Linked DNA regions of Homo sapiens: all the other regions are linked to region 1. Evidence: promoter capture Hi-C in 16 types of primary human blood cells and fetal thymus (Javierre and others, 2016). All regions are on one chromosome and are shown on one strand. The core of a region is centred on a gene start or on the middle of the fragment in contact, and the rest is flanking DNA. Distances in the headings are between cores, read along the strand shown.

Evidence for each region. The method cuts DNA at HindIII sites, captures the fragments that hold promoters and counts their contacts. A CHiCAGO score of 5 or more calls a contact.
Region 2: the fragment with the promoter of SLC22A5 here is called in contact with the fragment with the promoter of AFF4 in region 1 in 1 of 17 cell types (activated CD4 T cells); the score reaches 6.8 in activated CD4 T cells.
Region 3: a contact is called between a fragment that was not itself captured here and the fragment with the promoter of AFF4 in region 1, in 2 of 17 cell types (monocytes and fetal thymus). The highest score is 5.1, in monocytes.

What each region holds. Positions count from the first base shown.
Region 1 is chr5:132,961,815-132,965,928 of GRCh38, forward strand. It overlaps AFF4 (ALF transcription elongation factor 4), which reads right to left and starts at 1,820. Exons shown (of 21, transcript NM_014423.4): 1 at 1,445-1,820. It overlaps AFF4-DT (AFF4 divergent transcript), which reads left to right and starts at 1,998. Exons shown (of 2, transcript NR_186175.1): 1 at 1,998-2,320; 2 at 2,427-2,876. RefSeq lists a silencer at 1,275-2,114. The HindIII fragment of the contact is 2,367 bases long and covers 405-2,771 here.
Region 2 is chr5:132,367,461-132,371,574 of GRCh38, forward strand. SLC22A5 (solute carrier family 22 member 5) reads left to right here and starts at 2,250. Exons shown (of 10, transcript NM_003060.4): 1 at 2,250-2,905. The coding sequence starts at 2,513. It overlaps MIR3936HG (MIR3936 host gene), which reads right to left and starts at 2,456. Exons shown (of 8, transcript NR_110997.1): 1 at 2,384-2,456. RefSeq lists a silencer at 2,133-2,452. The HindIII fragment of the contact is 8,292 bases long and covers 1,020-4,114 here.
Region 3 is chr5:132,387,222-132,390,994 of GRCh38, forward strand. It overlaps SLC22A5 (solute carrier family 22 member 5), which reads left to right. Exons shown (of 10, transcript NM_003060.4): 6 at 1,700-1,800; 7 at 3,469-3,683. Among named protein-coding and RNA genes, the nearest start is that of MIR3936HG, 19 kb to the left of the region's middle. The HindIII fragment of the contact is 1,375 bases long and covers 1,837-3,211 here.

The DNA.
Region 1 (4,114 bases), core at 570-3,069:
GTACCAGCCTGCAAACCACCGCAAATTGAATGAAACTGCTGGTAATAAAAAAAGAAAAATTTGACTGCTTCCAGGTTTTTAGTAAGTTAACTCTGAAAGATAACTTAAAATAACTTACTGGGAATTTTTCTTATATTTAGGAGCTGAAAGATGCAGTGATAATAAGGAAAACGAATCTGAGAAATTTAAAGAAGCCAGCTTTGTTGAAAACCAAGTGGCCACTTGCCAACACTTCTTTATGCACGTATGACCAAAGATGATTCTAGGCAGACTCACAGACCACAAAGGCTCTTTATCAAATCCCAAATTAAGAAAGTTCTCATAAATATTTCAATTTTGATAAGTTAAAGACCAGTTAAGTTTTAAAAAGCACTTTATGAAGTGCAGAATCAATACAGAAACGAAGCTTTGCGCTTTTCATATCTGAGCCCGAAAAACAGCACACATTTTATGTTACATTTACAGTCTATTCACAGACACCTATAGCTTAGATTCCATCAAGAAAAACACTGGTCAATGGAAAAGTGACTGGCCTTAGTATAAAATTTCCATGTGGCCAGCAGGGAAGAAACCGCATAATTCTGAATTACAACTGACAAAACTACGAGAACCCTAAATCGAACTCTTCGCCTTGAACTCCATATACAAACATTTCAGATTCGTACTTCCACTTCCTGAAAATAATACTGTTTGTAAACGAAAAGGCAATAAGGTTACTCCCAAAACTCCTGTACTCCATGATCCATCCTCAAAGAGTGGAAGGAACAGCAAAGTAGAAGGAACAAAGCACTGACGTCAATTACGAGATTAACCCCAAGCACAGGCAGCTGGAGGAAAGGCCTAAACATCAATATCCACGCACAAGCTACTGGGATAACTAGGTAACAGACCGATTCAGAAGTTGTAGGGGAGGGTATTCGAGTATTATACCCCCACGTTCCCATTTTTAGTCAATCCCCTTCGCAAGTCGAAGGCGGAAATTTTTCCTTCTTTTTTTTTTTTTTTTGCGGGGGTGGGGGTGTGGGAGAGGTGCGCAGGATCGCGAGAAGGAAAGCGAGAACTAGCTGGGTAATGTTAGCCAGAATCTGGGCCTATTTTCTCTTTAATTAGACATAATTTGAAATTGAGGAGGATATGAAAAAGTAACAAATCAGCCGATGGAACGTCTGAGGAAAGAAAGAGGAAAGGAGAAACACTAAACGGATGGATTTCTGGGAATTTTTGTTAGGATTGGGTTAGCTTTTTTTATTTTCTTATCTTTGCGGGAAGGTGGTGGGGTGGGACGCGCAGATGAGAGGAGGGGTGACGCCTGATTGAGCAGCCCCAGCCCGGAGGGTCTCCCCGAGGCTCCCCGCAGAACTTGCGGGCCCCCACCCCCACCCGGCCCCGGCCACAACCCCCGCGGCCCGGCCCGGCCCTGGGTCAGTCTGTCGGCCCTTCTTACCTCCAGTCCCGGCTCCGCTAGGCCCGAACCATCTCCTGGCTGCGGCAGTGGCGGCGCCGGGCCTGCACCTTCACCGGACGCGCATTCGAGCCCGCCCAGGGGGCGGTGACAGGCTGCCAAGGGCGAGGGGCTCCGGGAGGCGGCGGGGGTTCCGGAGGCCTCGACAAACGAAGGCGGCGTCGGCGGCGGCGGCAGCGATGCGCCTCACACGGAACAGGCGTAGGCCCCGCACCGCTCCATGACGGTCGGGCCCGGGCTGGGACAGCTGACTGAGGCGGCGGGGGCGGGTTAACGAAGACCTGGCACCAGGATCCCCGCCCCGTCCGCTGGCGGCGGCGACGGCAGCTGGACTCCTGCAGCCAGGGCTGTGACTGACGCAGCGGCCGTGCCACCATGTGACCAAGACCGGGCGGGTGCGGGGCGTCACGTGATGCCTCTGCGCCCCTCCCCGCTGGGGGAGTAGGGGGCGGGGGTCTGTGGGCCGGCTGGGCCGGGAGGCGACGCCCGGGGTGGTGACGTTCCCGGCTGTGGGGTCTGATGACCCGGGCCAGGCAAAGGACCCGCCCGAGCGGTATAGGCCTGAGCCTCTGGGCACTGCGGCCGCGTCCGGCAGGGCTGCCACGGCAGTACAGGGCCTGCACATCCGGGAGCTCACGCCCTCCTGCGCGTAGCCCGCTAGTGAGGTTCCGAAGGGCGGGGCCGGGCCGAACCGGATATGCCGGTTCTGGGGCTCAGGTGACAAACCCAGGCCTTCCGCCCCTCGCCTCTGGTGGGGATCCGGCCCAACCCGGAGCTTCCTAGACTTGCTTCCAGGTGTCGAAGCCTCGAGTCCTCAAGAGGTCCAGCAAAAAGGCAAAGGACGCAGGAGGCTGTTCGGTATTTCCAGTAAACTTACCCTAAGAAGCCAAACCGTCCCTCTTTCTTCGTCATTTAAACATCTTCTGCCACTAATGTTTTCCTTTTCATTTATTTATTGAGATAGATCTCGCTGTTGTCGCCCAGGCTGGAGTACAATGGCGGGATCTCGGCTCACTGCAACCTCCGCCTCCCGAGTTCAAGCGATTCTAGTACCTCAGCCTCCGGAGTAGCTGGGATTAAAGGGGGGAGCCACCACCTACGGCTAATTTTTGTATTTTTAATAGAGACACGGTTTCACCATGTTGGCCAGGCTGGTCTCGAACTCCTGACCTCAACCAATCCACCCGCCTGGGCCTCCCAAAGTGTTGGGATTACAGGCGTGAGCCACCGCACCCGGCCCACTAATGTTTTTCTTCAGCATATCATTCTGAACACTTCTTTCACCTCTAAACATCTACTATTTCTTTTAAGCTTCACTCTTTATATGCATTTTCTCTATAGAGCTATATAAATTAGGAAATGTCTTAATAGAAAACTCAAAACATGACAGAATAAAAAATAATTGATTCTCCCATCTCTGTCTGTTAGCTGTTTCAGTCCTGGAAGGCAATCACTTAGCATTTAATAATGTATCTTTCCCTACATATTTGTAAGTAATACATTAAAATATAGGGATACTTCTTTTTACACAAAAGGTAACACACTATATACGCTGTTCAGTCCTTTTTTTCTCACTTCAAATATCTTGGATAGGCTGGGCACAGTGGCTCAGGCCTATGATCCCAACACTTTAGGAGGCCGAGGGGGGCTGATCGCTTGAGACCAGGAGTTTGAGACCAACCCCGGCAACATGGCAAAACCCCATCCCTATGAAAAATACAAAAATTAGCCGGGCGTGGTGGTGCATGCGTATAGTCCCACCTACTCTGGAGACTGAGGTGGGAGGATCACTTGAGCCTAGGAGGTCGGTGCTGCAGTGAGCCGGGAGCTTGCCATCCAGCCTGGATGAGAGTGAGACCCTGTCTCAAAAAAAGAAAAAAGAAAAAAATGTCTTGGACATCCTGCCATATCAGTATATAATGAACTACCTTTTTCTTCCTAGAGGCAGAATAATATTCCACTTATGCAAACATCCTAATTTATTTAACCAATCCCCTACAGGTGGATATTCCGCTTGTTGCCAAGCCATTACTATTACATGCTAAGCTGCAATGAATAACCTCATACAAGACAGGGCAACATAGTGAGACCCCATCTCTACAAAAAATAAAAAATTAGCCGTTTGTGGTGGCACAGGCTTGTGGTCCTAACTACTAGAGAGGCTGAGGTGGGAGAATCGTTTGTACCCAGGAGATGAAGGCTGCAATGAGCCCTAATCGCACCACTGCACTCCAGTCTCAGTGACAGAGCAAGACCCTGTCTCAAAAAAGTTAAAATAATTAAAAACGAAAAACAACTCCATATAATGAGCAAATTATACCTGTATGATAAATCCTTAGCCTGGAATCTTTAGATCAAAAGGATTTTTAATTTTGATAGATATTACCAAATTATCCTACACAGAAATTGTGCCTATTTCATTTACTTGCTTTCAAATTCTGCTTAAGAAGATTTACAAGGCTGTATAGGTTGGAGGGTTGAGGGGATGGAGAGTGGCAAAAGAAAAGAATATTTGTCACTTTACACCGTAATAATTTTTTTTTTTTGAGACAGAGTCTCGCTCTGTCGCCCAGGCTGGAGTGCAGTGGCGCCATCTCGGCTCACTGCAAGCTCTGCCTCCCAGGTTCACGCCATTCTCCTGCCTCAGCCTCC
Region 2 (4,114 bases), core at 1,000-3,499, 590 kb before region 1:
ATAGTAATCACAGTGCACCTGGAACTGGACGGCACCATCTTAGGTTGCTCTCTGCTTTGCGCATGTGGACAAGCCATCTATGACAAATAGTTTCTTTTCTTCCTAAGGATATGCAGCTTCTTTTGTAGTATACTGCATTGTTTTCAGTCCCTTTCAGGAATGTTATCTGATGCCCAACTGATATTTCTCAAATGTTAAAATAAGACTTCTTCATCTTGTTTGGTCTGGACAGAGGTCAACATTCTTCTCATAAAAGCTTTCATTTCTTTTGAAGCATTAAAATAATATTTTAGCACACAAAAAAGGAGTTTATTTTCAAGAAGCTTTGCTTTCTTTTTCAGTTAGTTCTAGATAAGAACTATAACTTCACATAAGATGTTAGAAGGATTTAAGTACATTGCTGAAGGTATAACCATCCATCTTCAGGAAGTAAGAATAGTGAATAGTAAGTATAAAGAAACAAACAAGTCCTGTGATAACATCTTTATCATAATTTTTTTAAGTCTATTATGCTTTATGCAAATGTTTAGATTTCCTTGTTAAAAATCTGCTGGCCAGGTTAGGTTCCCTTTCTGTAGCTTTATTTTCAACTCATAATATAGTGACTATTAAATATTCTTTACTCAACACATTATATTGTAAAAATATACACTTAGTTCTGTTTCTATCACTAAGCCACTACTATTTTAAAAAGGAATATCTTGCATTGTTAAGTTTAGCAGCCCAAATTCTTAAAGGCCTTAGGAATGGTGCTGTCCAATAAGATAACCAATAGCTACATGTGGCTACTGAGCACTTAAAAAATGAGTCTGGCCAGGCATAGTGGCTCACGTCTGTAATTCAGCATTTTGGGAGGCTGAGGTGGGAGGATTGCTTAAACCCAGGAGTCTGAGACCAGCCTGGGCAACACAGGGATGCCTTGTCTCTGTAAAATAAAAAAAATAAAAAAATTAGCTGGGCACGGTGGCATGTGCCTGTAGTCCTAGCTACTCAGCAGGCTGAGGCAGGAGGCCCACTTAAGCTTAGGAGTTCAGGGCTGCGGTGAGCTATGATTGTGCCACTGCACTCTAGCCTGGGTGACACAGTGGGACCGTGTCTCCAATAAATAAATGAATAAATAAATATTAAAAAATAAAAAGTGTGGCTAGTCCAAATTGAAATGTGCTGTAAAATACACACTGGATTCCTTTTTTTTTTTTTTTCAAATCCTGAGAACCTGTGAAACACACTGAATTCTTAAGATTTAGTATGAGGAGGGGAAAAAAAGATCAATGATTTACATATAACAATGTAAAATATCAATAATTTCTATATTGATTATATGATGAAATGATCATGTTCTGGATATACTTGATTAAATATACCATTAAAGTTAATTTCATCTTTTATTTTTACTTTTTAAATATGCAGCATTGCCCAATAAAATACAGGACAACCAGTTACATTTTTATTTTATATATTCCTGCTTGGGACATAATATTTAAAAATTATTCATTCTATATCTGAAATTCAAATTTAACTAGGAGTCCTATATTTTTATTTGCTAAATCTGGCAATTTTATTAATATGGCTACTAGAAAAGTTAACATAACAAATGTAGCTCCTTATCCTATGGAACATTGCTGCTTTAGAATCACCTCGCTGCTTTTTTTTTTTTTCCAGTTAGCTTCTGAATAAACTCTGCACGGAAATAACTAATCTGTGGGGAATATTTAACCCTAGGCTAGGATCGTTAATCGTGAAGTTAAATTTTTACATCTGCATGAACAAAATGGCTTGTTACAGACGAAAATGTGGAAAGGGCATCTGGACTAGAATGAAAAGTCATAGCTCCCAGCCTCTCTACTAGGGTAGTTAACAGTCCCAGGTTCAAAATAATCCCCGTCCCTCTTATAAGATTAGGCGGTGTCAAGAGCAACTATCTGTGAGACCCTGGGCCAGTGACTTTCTCCTTACCTCCGCCCCCAAGTAGGCCTTGCAAAAAGCTGGGAGGGGTGCGTTTTCAACACTGGAGCTTCGCGGCCGCTCTCCCACTCGCTCCCCGCCCGGCGCTAGAGGAGCGAGTTCGGACTCGGACCCCAAGGCCTCGAGTCCCGCTGCCTTCCTAAGCCGAGCCCGGGCTACCTCGGTCGTCCCCAGCAGGCTTGGCTGGCAGAGGCCGGGCCTCGCCAGGTCCCCAGGACAGGCCCCGCCCGGGCCTCAGGTGCACTCCCGGCCCGCCCCGCGCCCTCGCGTCCCGCCCCAGCTCCGCCTTCGCCGGCGCCGCTCTGCCTGCCAGCGGGGCGCGCCTTGCGGCCCAGGCCCGCAACCTTCCCTGGTCGTGCGCCCTATGTAAGGCCAGCCGCGGCAGGACCAAGGCGGCGGTGTCAGCTCGCGAGCCTACCCTCCGCGGACGGTCTTGGGTCGCCTGCTGCCTGGCTTGCCTGGTCGGCGGCGGGTGCCCCGCGCGCACGCGCAAAGCCCGCCGCGTTCCCCGACCCCAGGCCGCGCTCTGTGGGCCTCTGAGGGCGGCATGCGGGACTACGACGAGGTGACCGCCTTCCTGGGCGAGTGGGGGCCCTTCCAGCGCCTCATCTTCTTCCTGCTCAGCGCCAGCATCATCCCCAATGGCTTCACCGGCCTGTCCTCCGTGTTCCTGATAGCGACCCCGGAGCACCGCTGCCGGGTGCCGGACGCCGCGAACCTGAGCAGCGCCTGGCGCAACCACACTGTCCCACTGCGGCTGCGGGACGGCCGCGAGGTGCCCCACAGCTGCCGCCGCTACCGGCTCGCCACCATCGCCAACTTCTCGGCGCTTGGGCTGGAGCCGGGGCGCGACGTGGACCTGGGGCAGCTGGAGCAGGAGAGCTGTCTGGATGGCTGGGAGTTCAGTCAGGACGTCTACCTGTCCACCATTGTGACCGAGGTGGGTGCCGGCCCCTGCTGGGGCTGAGACCAGGGCTCGGAGGACCTGTCGCGGTCCTTGAACCCGAGCTCCTCTCTCCCAGATGCGCACTGGACGCTGTCACTCCCCCTCCCCCAACGGTCAACACCCTAGCGATGGAGACCCTCCAGCCAGGTGGCTTGGGAACGCTTCACGAGGTGACCTCCAGCCACAGTGTGCTCCTCCCTGCACAGGTGGTCAGTCTGGCCTCCCGTCCTGATGGCCACTTTGAAGAGGGTACCAGGAAGGTCCTGGCGGTCCCTGGGCGATGCTCTATGGCCCTGTGTGTCCAGGACTTACTCTAGTTGGGGTTGGGGGTGGTAAGTAGCAGAGCCAGGACTTGGGCCAGGGGCTATCCCGTTTTTCCTCTAGTCTCTTGATTTCTTTTTAGAAGAGAAGAAATACTTCTCTTTCCTGAACTTTTAAAAGTTAAATAAAGCATGTGTATACAACTGCCTCTTCCCTTTTTCCTCTAGTTACTCCTTCCCCTACCGTCCACAACCCAAAAACGACAATCTGGTCATGCCCTGTAAGTAATTGTTTGCCTTTTCCCATGGTCAGTTGTCAGTCTTTTTTTTTTTTGAGACAGAGTCTCCCTCTGTCACCAGGCTGGAGCGCAGTCGTGTGTTCTTGGCTCACTGCAACCTTCGCAGTCGTGCGTTCTTGGCTCACTGCAATCTTCGCCTTCCGGGCTCAAGTGATTCTCCTGCCTCAGTCTCCGAGTAGCTGTGAGCCACGACGCCCAGCTAATTTTTGTGTTTTTAGTAGAGACGGGGTTTCACCGTGTTGGCCAGGATGGTCTCGATCTCTTGACCTCGTGATCTGCCTGCTTCTGCCTCCAAAGCTGGGATTACAACCGTGAGCCACCACGCCAGGCCGTCAGTTGTCACTCTTTAAGATCCATTCATCTGAAGATGGGTTCAGGGTGACTTGTTGACCTGGAATATTTTCTCAGGTATTATGAGGCAAGGCTGTCGGCCAGATTTAGTTAAAGCATACAGCCTTAGGTCATAGGGTGTAGGGGAGCCTTTCTCATTTCTCATCCCCTTGGATTTTCCCTCTGGGTGGTTTTGTCTGTCCCCTCCGAACCTGTTGGAGCAGTTGTTGGAGCTGGATGTAGGAACATGATGTTAATGATGTATGTGTTTTGTGTCTTTTTTAGACACTGGCACTCTAGCTCCCTGAAGTTTC
Region 3 (3,773 bases), core at 1,274-3,773, 570 kb before region 1:
GAAGTCCTCCCTGCTCACAGCAGCCCAGCCCTCTCTCCGCCCAAGCCCCAACTGCCCATTCCCCCCATCCCCCCACTCCCCACCCCCACACGGGCCCTGTTAACACTCAGAAGTTGAGGAATAGGTTACAGCTGCCTCACTCTTTTCACCACGGGTTTCAGATTTTCATTTTTTACTTCCTTTCTAGGCAATCATATATTTTAACCATTACTTCTAACAATAAATACTCTTTTTGAGTAATAGGCCTTTCATAAAGTCAGCATTTGGGAAAATCATTGTTTCTTATACCTAAGGTGGCTTGTCACCTTACAAAGCTAACCCCAAACGTAAAATGTAAAGCACAAATAGATTTGGAGTTAGAAGTATTTCATCTCTTGAGTATTAGCAATTATTCATTAAAAAGAAAAAAAAAGTGTTTAGTCTCTTTCTGCCCTCCAATGGTTAATTATTGCATATCATCTTGGAGTCAGGTCCTTTTTGATGTCCACCTCTTCCCCCTACCCCACCCCTCCCGTCAGCCCTGTTCTCACACACCATGACTCATTTCTTGGCTCTACCTAGTTCCTGGTTCTTGCTTTTCCTTCCCGTTCCCTCTCCTACCATCTCTGTAGCAGGCAGTTTTCCTTGGTCTCGTGACTATGAGAGGTTAGAAGCTGTAAATGCTGCCTGGTGGGGTTCTGGAATGTGTCTGTGGTCTGACTGGAAGATGAGGGGTTGGGTGTGGGAACAGCCACAAGCAGCCCTGCTGAAGTGTGAGAGGCAGGCATGGTTGGGCTTGGAAAAGAGGGAACAGTTATTGTAGACAGCGGAGGCCAATGGCCACTGCCAGCCCTGCAGACTTCCCAGTGAGTGGTGGCCCAGCAGCCACTGTCAGCATGCACCAGAAAGGGGTCCTGTGCGCAAAGGTCAGGCAGGAGTGTGGCAGAGGGCTTTTAAGTTAGGTGGTTTTGGGGGCTTTTAAGTGAGGGGTCAATCTGGGTGAATGCATAAGCCCCACTGGCATCTTTGAGGAAATGAGGCTATTTCAGGGGATACTTTCAGTCCAAAGTTGACCTTTTGTTGAACTTCTAACTCTGGAAAAACAAGCTCCAAACCTGGGTTTGCTTAAGAAAGCAACATCAGTGTGTTTAGACGTGTGGTTTATTAATGGCCTTGGCTGTGCTGAATTTCATAGGAAGTCACTCTGGGTGAAGCTCAGGTCAATTTTCCTGTTTTTCTATTTGAATTCTTTTTCCCTGGAAGCACACCAGTAACTACATAGTATAAGGACTCAAAACATTAACTTTTAAAAAATATCAGACCAATAAACCACACAGCCAGGTACTCTCTCTGACCCAGAGGGCAGGGAGCCAGGCTTCGGGAGGAATACTTAGAGGCCTCCTTGGAATGTGGCCACCGACAGGAATATGTGGGGGTGCAGTGAGGAAGCTGTCAGCCTGGGCCTCTGTCTTCCTGTACCCTTGAGGGACTGGTCACTTACTTTTCCTCATTTTCATTCACTCTGATTTGTTACTGACAAGGCCTAGGGAAGTTTTCACAGCCTAAAACACAGTCAGTATACTTACTGTTCTTAGAAACGTAACACTCCCCGACGCTGAGATGCAGACAGCTAAGATGCCAGGGATTCAAGTATGTTATTGTGTGCTCTGAGTCTCTGACCACCTCTTCTTCCCATACACTTATGATGTTGTTCCTGCAGTTACAAGACCTAAGTTCCAAGAAGCAGCAGTCCCACAACATTCTGGATCTGCTTCGAACCTGGAATATCCGGATGGTCACCATCATGTCCATAATGCTGTGGTATGTAAAAGAGACCTGCCTGAGGCTTCCAGACAAAGCTTCTTGAAGTGGCCATTGGGCCTCTTGTTTACAGACATGCCTCAGACAAAATTCAAAGCCTATGTCATCAGAGAGTGAAAAGGATATGTCTTGTGTTAGATGGAAAAAATGGGCATGTCACAATTCTTAATGGGATGGAACCTCAGAAAAGGAGAATGAAAACAATTGTGGAGGCTGTTGTGGGAAATATGGACTCTTGTGGGGAATCTCTCCAGATCTTAAGATGAATCCTTGCCCAATTTGGGTCATTTAGTTCCCGTCTCCTACCCAGTTACCGACAGTGGCTGAGGAGGCCAGGTAGGGCTTTTAAGAAGGATCTGAGTGAAGACACCATGTCCTGTAGGCTGCAGAGGCTGCCAGTTACTTTCTGGAAATGTGGAAGTGGGATGTGCTCCTCCTGGGATGTCCATAAACGGTCCTGGAGTCAGGGCTATAGCCTAGATGTCCTTACCAGGTTCCCACTAATGAGGCAAAGTATGTCAGAAAGGGATTTGTGAATTACCAGGGAGAGGAAACATGTCCAAGTGCACATCGCTAGCTTTTGCTCAGCGGCCGAACCCTGGGATTCTAGGCGACTTCTGGAGCCTGGTGGGTTAGCGGTGAGAAGATGGGCGAGGAGGGCGGACTTCATCTCAGAGTCCTTATTACTAGTCTCATCCAGCTTTGAGGCAGTCAGCCACTGTGCCTACTGAGGGAGTGCTATGAGTCACCCGCTTCCAAGGAATGGCCCAGGATCCCTCCAGGCAGTTCACCATTCCCTGAGTTGGCCTCAAGACAGGAGCAGCATGTAGCCTGCACCACAGACATGCAAGCCTGTGATGAGTCACCCACTTTTGTGTTCACCCAGGCTCTCCTCCCTGCTCTGGATTTCCTGGGGACTCATGCACATACTCTTTTTATTGTACCAGCTGTGTGTTCCACCTGCAGATGAGTCAAAACAGTCTAATCCATAAAGGTCTGGTTTGTCAAAGAGTGTGGGTCATCAACAGAGAGAATGCCTACTGGGGATGCCCAGGTCAGGGGTACTGCAGGGCATCCTGATGAGAGGCAGTGTGGCCCCTCCATTGGGAGCCACCTCTGTGCTCCACAAGTACCGCGGGGCTGGTGTCAGCTGTCTCTGACCAGCCTCTTCCTGACTGGTCACCACAGGTAGTGTGTGAGGGTCTCTCTCCAAGTGTTTGACCTAATGTTGTTCCTTTTGTTATCTTATCCCCCAAATCCTATCACACCTCACTTGATGTCTGCCTCCTGACTCATTCTCTAGCTCCTTCTGCAGTTGCTGGATTTGAGGAGGTTCAGCTTAGGATTTTTAAAGCTGAAAGGCAGGTTGGAATTTTTCTTTTCAATGAAGTAAATCTATCTGAATTATACAAGCTTTTTTGCTGGGACACTGTCTATATGGAAGGCTCTGAGAGCGCACTGGCGCAGGGTTTACACTGTACCACTTGGGCTGGGGAAAATTATCTTTTGATCTATGAAGTAAGACGCAGGGTTACAGTTACTGCTGCCTTACTAGTCTCTGCTTAAAGATGGTTTGGAATTTACTGAAATAATTGCATTGTAAAAGTTGTACAGGTTGGGAAAGATGTGGATACTGCTTTTCCAGCTTTCTTCTGCACTCTGTTTCAGGATGACCATATCAGTGGGCTATTTTGGGCTTTCGCTTGATACTCCTAACTTGCATGGGGACATCTTTGTGAACTGCTTCCTTTCAGCGATGGTTGAAGTCCCAGCATATGTGTTGGCCTGGCTGCTGCTGCAATATTTGCCCCGGCGCTATTCCATGGCCACTGCCCTCTTCCTGGGTGGCAGTGTCCTTCTCTTCATGCAGCTGGTACCCCCAGGTAGGGACCATGTGCATCTATGGTTTGGGGTCTTCACTGAGTCTCTTACTGTCTACCAGGCTGTCTCAATTAATAAAGAGAATAAAATCA